Regions from separate parts of the Homo sapiens genome. Here region 1 is linked to region 2. The links are contacts of gene promoters, found by promoter capture Hi-C in blood cells and fetal thymus (Javierre and others, 2016). All regions are on one chromosome and are shown on one strand. The core of a region is centred on a gene start or on the middle of the fragment in contact, and the rest is flanking DNA. Distances in the headings are between cores, read along the strand shown. Region 1 overlaps SPRING1 (SREBF pathway regulator in golgi 1). Region 2 holds the start of HRK (harakiri, BCL2 interacting protein).

Evidence for each region. Contacts are between HindIII fragments. The CHiCAGO score rates a contact against its expected background, and 5 or more counts as called.
Region 1: a fragment that was not itself captured here is called in contact with the fragment with the promoter of HRK in region 2 in 1 of 17 cell types (total B cells); the score reaches 5.4 in total B cells.

The regions. Positions count from the first base shown.
Region 1 is chr12:116,722,200-116,725,620 of GRCh38, reverse strand. SPRING1 (SREBF pathway regulator in golgi 1) reads left to right here. Exons shown (of 5, transcript NM_024738.4): 2 at 2,398-2,554. Among named protein-coding and RNA genes, the nearest start is that of SPRING1, 14 kb to the left of the region's middle. The HindIII fragment of the contact is 1,342 bases long and covers 1,403-2,744 here.
Region 2 is chr12:116,879,103-116,882,745 of GRCh38, reverse strand. HRK (harakiri, BCL2 interacting protein) reads left to right here and starts at 1,305. Exons shown (of 2, transcript NM_003806.4): 1 at 1,305-1,770. The coding sequence starts at 1,439. The coding sequence ends at 1,714. RefSeq lists an enhancer at 151-1,112 and silencers at 1,618-1,697, 2,576-2,776. The HindIII fragment of the contact is 8,246 bases long and covers 1-3,643 here.

The DNA of each region.
Region 1 (3,421 bases), core at 824-3,323, 160 kb after region 2:
AGCCATGGCGCCCGGCCAGAAAAGTACTAAGTATAATAGAAAGTTCTACAGAATCTTTACTTAATTTCCTTCTGTTATTAATAATCCTGTTTTTAATGTTATCACTTTATTTTAAATTAAAAATATTCCCAAAATGATTAAAGATAATTTTAATAACCACATACGTCCCTCCCATGTTAGTAGTCTGTAGTATAGTAGTTCCCCCTTATCTGTTCTGAGACCCTCAGTGGATGCCTGAAACTGCGGCTAGTACCAAACCCTATCCATACTGTTTTTCCACCTGGTAACTGAGTGACTACTAAGTGACTAACATGGATATGCTGGATAAAGGAATGATGCACAGCCCGGGCGGGACGGAATGGGATGGCGTGAGGTTGCACCATGCTACTTAGAACAGTGCTCAATTTAAAACTTAGGAACTGTTTACTTCTGCAGTTTTTTATTTAATATTTTTGGACCACAGTTAACTGCGAGTAACTGTTAAACTTCAGAAAGTAAAACCATGGGTAAGAGAGACTACTGTATATCTTTCCATACCATTATCTTAGCTCTTACAAACTTATATGTGCATATTATCATAATTATTATCATAATATGTGTGATAGGCACATTATTCTGCAACTTGCTTTTTCCCTTGATAATACACTATAGGCATGCAGTGGTCTGCAACCCTGTCTATGTATTAAAATCATCTAGGTACTTTAAAAATACTGATTCCCAGGTCTCCACAGATTTTCCTGCCCATAGGTGGGCTTAGGAATCAGAATTTGTTTTTATGCTCCCTACATTAATCTAATGTGCAAAAGTCAGTTTGTAGAGCTGCTACTCTAGTTAAATAGCTATCAGTCGTATCTCAGTTTGGTTGTAACAGTATTGTTATACCAGTGTTCATTCAGTCATTTCTCTGTTATTGGGGTTTCAGGGGTTTTGTTTGTTTGTTTTTGAGATGGAGTTTTGCTCTTGTCACCCAGGCTGGAGTGCAGTGGTGTGATCTCGGCTCACTGCAACCTTTACCTTCTGGGTTCATGCAATTCTACCACCACGCCCGGCTAATTTTTGTATTTTTAGTGGAGATGGGGTTTCACCATGTTGGCCAGGCTGACCTTGAACTCCTGACCTTAGGTGATCCACCAGCCTCGGCCTCCCCAAAGTGCTGGGATTACAGGCATGAGCCACCACACCCGGCAGGTTTCAGGTTTTTTATACCATCGAAACGATCATGTAGTAAACATCCTTGTATTTCCCTATACATTGGTGTTTTCCATAGGACAGACCTGAGTTTCCTGGGCCAAAGTGTATGTAGACATATATTTTTAAAATACGAACAGAACTTCCTAGATTACTTTCCTAGATAAATTTTAGTAACGATAAAGATCTTTACCATTTTTTAAGTATATAAGCTTCTTCATCAAATTTTCAAGATTAGTCCCTTTTGCTTAAAAAGCAACACATGACAGGTTATTTTGAAAGGTAAAAGCCACAGAACTCCGTTAGAACAGTGAATGTTTCAAGTCCATCATTGTTTTATTATCCAGTAGCTTACTGAAGCGTTCAGAAGAGGCCGTCTCAAGCTCGGCTTGTTTTCTAGCACTTAGGCAGCTTCCTCTTTAGTTTTTTTTTTAACAGTATAGAAAAGATTATAACAGTATAGAAAACAGTATAGAAAAGGCAGTTTTGTAAGCTGGCTCCTAGCGGACATAGCTTCAAGACCAGAAGAGATGATCTTCAACTCTTGACTCCAGGGCAACTCTTCCAATTGCTTGTCCGGGTAGAGGGCTGGCCGGCCTGGGTGTGTTCCGTAGCGGGTTACATACTCAGTGGTCCTTCACAGAAGAAATTCACAAGTTGACATGCTTCATTTTGCTCCTAAAATCAATGTCCTAATTCACGTTTTCCCAAACGTCTTCCACCCAAAGTACCTGTAACTGCAAATGAAAGGGATTTTGTGCTCTAGATGTCTGAGATGAGAGTCACGAAAGTTTCTTCTGCTCTTTAAAAAGTGTATTCACATTTTAAGTTCTGTTCCACAATGTATTTGTTTTAATGTGAAAAATATTTTAAATTACTTGCCATCAGAAAGAAAAAGTCCAAAACTTTTCCTCTCCAATTTTTTCATAAAATTAACACTTTTATACACATTTATGATGTGCATGCCATCCAGGAGCCACGCATGTAAGTATGCCAGTTTTCAAGCATAGCACTAGCTTATTACTTTTTCCTACAGGTTTATTTTATGACTTTGGCTCAGGCTTTGCTTGTACCAGGAGAGGGCAGATTCTGGTAGTGTAAGCCTTTTATAGTATTTCTGTCCTCTTACTGTAGTTTCTGTGAAAAACTGGTGAAATTGTAAGAAAGGATACTGGATACTTAACCTTCTCACTTATGGTTTCTTTGCAGGAGGAGAGGGCAGTGAGAGATAGGAATCTCCTCCAGGTTCATGACCATAATCAGCCCATCCCGTGGAAAGTGCAGTTTAACTTGGGCAATAGCAGTCGTCCGAGCAATCAGTGCCGCAACTCCATTCAAGGGAAGCACCTCATCACGGATGAACTCGGTGAGGCTGGCTTCCCTTCCTCTCCAGGCGGTCAGGAGCGTAGGCTGGTTGGGCCATTCATAGGGTTTTTGTTTGAATAGGGATTCCTCTGCAACACATTTTCTCTCCTCGCTCATCTCCAACATTCCCCAGGTTTTTGTCTTCTATACCCTACTCATCATTCAAGGTTCCCTTCAACATCAGAGAAGCTTGTTTTGATAACTCTAACTCTTAAAAGTTCTTTCTGCCTACAACTTACAACATGAGCACTGTGTCACGCATCAGTCCCCAGGCCCCTTCTGACAATCTCTCCCCAGCCTCACTATTTCCCCATCTTGCCAATCTTTTTTTCTCATCTCGAGGGTGAACTCTATAGGATAAGAGCTCAGTTTTCCTTCTTGGTAACCTGAGTAAAATTCACATTGTGTTGACACTCAAGAAATGTACTTGTTGACTGACCAGAATGCATTCCCAACTCAGCAGTGATGCCAGTGACAAGCTATATTTTTCAGATCACATTGAAAAAGCAAATCATATTGAAAATAATGTGGGTTTTGTTTTTTAATAAGCAGAGTGAAGTTTAGCAAAAGGAAGTTACTTCCATAAGATGACATAGTCAGTGGGCAGACATTGACTTGGAGTTCAGGGCTTCTTACAGGATGTGTGACATTCAGTGAGAAAACATGAAATCTTACACTCTCACTTTAATGTTTTAGTGCTGGGTTGTGAGCACAGTTTGTCATCTTTTATCATAGCTAGTGAAAGAATATTCTTTTGATTAATTTGGGTAAGACAGAGACTCTTGGACTCTTTGAGTAAAAAATTCCAGGAGTGAAGGAATCAATCAATTAATAAAAATCCAAGAGCTATAGGTTTTATTTTTCTCCA
Region 2 (3,643 bases), core at 56-2,555:
AGCCCACAGGTGCCAGACATAGAAGATGCGCAGTAGGTCTTGGCCATTATGAAGCCTAGAATAATTGGAGCTGGGTGAGGGAAAAGGCCACCAGAATCACACAGTGTTGTGGGCTTTGAGCCCTGACTTTGTTGTCATTTCACCACGCTGTGGGCCAAAAGGGACATTTCTCCTCCTGATCAATTCAGACCAAAACTAAGTTCACAGACTCGAAGAATCTTGGTTATACTCTGCGGTGGGAAGGCAAGAACGGAAGCTCCCTCAGCAGGTTCCAGACTCCCAACTTGGAGCCATCTCTGGACTCATCCCGATGGTCTGAATCCCAAAGTTGTCTGAATCCCAGTCGATTTAAGATCACAGGTTTCATTCTCCCCCACAGAATCCTGACAGCCGCCCAGCCCATCTGAACCTTCACCGTTTGTGACAACTGCAGACGCTCCAGTCTGGAGGTGCACAGGAGTGGCTGTCGGATTGGAAAAGGGGGAATTAAAGTCCCCCGCGCCCCTCCTCTCGCCGACCCCTTAGGGTCTCCACTGCGCATTAAATCGGGGTCATCGCAGAAAACTGTAACGCCATCAGGAAAATAATGTTCACAAAGAAAGCAGACAAGAAGTTTCCCTTTAGAAAGCCCCTTGCGAGGGTCTTTTGGGTGCGGGTGCCGGGCAGCGAGAATGCCTCCGTCCGCGCCCCACGCGAGCTCAGGTGGGCCCATCCAGCCTCCCACCGGGCGCTGGGGGCACTTTAGGGTCAGGTTTCTAGCCAGGCGCTGGGGGCACGTTAGGGTCAGGCTGAAAGCCTACAGGTGCCAAGTCAGACCTGAAACGAGGCAAGTTGGGTGTAATCTGACCCTTCCATAAGATTTTGAATCCACCCACCTCCCCCAAACAAAACAACAGCCTCGGAATATTTTTGAATAATGCAGCCGAATTCAGCATCAGCTTCATCCAAAACGGCAAACAAGCCTTTTTCCCTCGCCAAATCGGAACTCGAGCTGAATTCAGGAAAAGGGGAAGGAGAACAACCTTCCCTCGCGCTCCGCGCCTCCGCGGGGGTCCCCCGAGACCCCCAAAGCCCAGGACCTCCGCTGCGGGGAGCCTTCTCGCGCCGCCCCGCGCCGCGCTCCCCGTCTCCCAAACCTCGCGCTCCCTAGCTGCCGGCGCCGCTAGGGTTAAAAGTTACCTCTCGGTTTCTTCTGCCTGCAGCCCCCCCCCCAACCCCCGGGGGCCGGATGATGTAACCCCCCTCCCCGCCCCCCTCCACCATGTGACACTTTAATTAATAATAGCGCCGTCAGCACAACAAACGCACAACACAAGGAGAAACTTGGTGTCCAGGGGAGGCCCCCGGCGGCTGGAGCGCGGCGGCAGCGGGCGCAGAGGCCGGAGGGAGAGGAGGCGAGGGGCGGCCCGAGCGCGGGGCGGGAGCGAGGCCAGCGGTCATGTGCCCGTGCCCCCTGCACCGCGGCCGCGGCCCCCCGGCCGTGTGCGCCTGCAGCGCGGGTCGCCTGGGGCTGCGCTCGTCCGCCGCGCAGCTCACCGCCGCCCGGCTCAAGGCGCTAGGCGACGAGCTGCACCAGCGCACCATGTGGCGGCGCCGCGCGCGGAGCCGGAGGGCGCCGGCGCCCGGCGCGCTCCCCACCTACTGGCCTTGGCTGTGCGCGGCCGCGCAGGTGGCGGCGCTGGCGGCCTGGCTGCTCGGCAGGCGGAACTTGTAGGAACGCGGGGCTTCTTGGTGGGGCCGGAGCCGAGACCCAGCCGGAGCGAGCAACAGGTACGCGAGCGAGCGAGCGAGAGCCGGGGCGCGGCAGCTGGGCACTGGAGACGCTGGGCTGGCCCGGGAGCGGGAGAGTGGCAAGTTTGGCTTTCTTCTTTTCCCTTCTCCTTCTTCCTCCGTTCTCTTCTCTTGCAAGCATCTCCACCTCTCCTCTTCTACCCAGTCCCCAGTCTTCCCTTCCAAGTGTAAGGTCCACCGTTTCTGCCCCCATCTCTGCGAGTCCTTAAGCGCATCTTGCTACTCACTTATAGCTCAGTGGCTTGCGGAGGACTTCAGCCTCCATAATCCCCACCAGCCCCACAAATAAACACACAATGCAAGTAAAAAGTGTGCTTGCTATGGGAATGTAGTTGTAAGCCACGCCAAATACTTAAAATCTATCGCACTTCCAAGAAAGGTCCCCGGTCCCGTTCCAATCCTCTTGCCGTTCCTGAGTCGCCCCCGTCTCCATCACCTTTGCTCCCAACCTCTTGTCCCTAAGTGTCACTTCTCCAATCTCTGATCCCCATTATCTGGCACCCCAAGCGCATCTCGAGACTTCCTCCCCCTCCAGGTTTCTGGCTGGCCCAATCTTTCTTCCCAAGCTCCGCGCATTTGCAATTTTCCTCTGCCCTGCCAACTTCGCTCCTTCTCGAGTGAGGTGTCCTGTTTAAGGAGTTTGGCTTCCTTCTCCCCAGACGGTTGTAGCTGCTACGGGAAGGAGACGCCCTCGGAGTGGGCTGGAATAGGGGGCTTTCAGGGAAACTCCAATGGGAAGCCTTAAGGAAGGAACATTTATTGAGCTCCTTCGGGGTGCTGGGCACTGTTTAGGGAGGTCATGTGTTGAGAACTTAGGACAGGAAGTGGGTACTGAGCACCTAGTGTGGTTGGTATCAGTGGGAGGAAGGTACTAGGCTCTTGGGGTGGGGGGATCATTGTGCCCTAGCTGTGCGCCTGGCACTGTGCTAGGCGCTTTGAGGAAGCACACAGCGTAAGCATCGTCTTACTACTCTGGATCCTGGAGTAGCGAGGAGCGCTGCAGAGAATGAGGGAGAGAGAATCAGGCTGAGCCCACCATAGATGGGTCTAGGGCCGGAAGGTGAAGCTCGAAGGTGACATAGCCAGCCGCCCTTAGGTCCCCGCCCCCGAGCCCCGCCGCGCGCCGCAGACACCCTGGGAAGTTGGAGCGGCGCCTGAAGGCGAGGCCCGAGCGTCTGCGCCCGCGGGGAAAGGCGGCAGCCGGAGCGTGGGGGGTGGCAGCGCCCAGGGAGCTGCGGGGGTGCGCGGGGTGTGAGCCGGGACCGCAGGCGACAGATGTCGCGTGGGCCCGCGCAGCCCGGGCGCTGGCGAAGAGAAATGCGCGCTTCGGGGCGCTCTCTGCCCGGCTCCCGGGCGCCGGGGGTCCCATCCACTTCTCCCTACCTTCTCTCTCTCCTGTTGGAGAGGCCAGGGGCTCCCGCGACTGAAAGGGGCCAGGCTGAGGCTGCCCAATCCCAGGGACAGGAAGAACATTTTGGATGGATCGCGGGGTGCAGAAAAAGGAAGTTGAGCGACAGACGCGAAGCCCAAAGCGTGGAATTTGGGAAGAGGCAGAAAAAAAGTGGGCGAAGAGGAAGAGAAAAAACAAGCGACGAGATGGGGAGGGACAAGAAGTTTGGGGAGGATAGAGAAAAAGAGAAACTGCCTGGAAAACAAGTTGCAAGACAATTGAAAAGTGAATGAGAAGGAAAGAGAGGAAGGTAGTAAAATCAAATAGAACTGTGGAGAGAGGGCTGGGACACGGCTTTCTCTGGTTCTGTCGTCCAGGAGATTGGAAACGCTCTCCCCTTCCGGCACCAGGCGTGCGGGATGTCGGGTGCCCCTCCCGGGAGGCCGAGGACTCCGGGCCGGA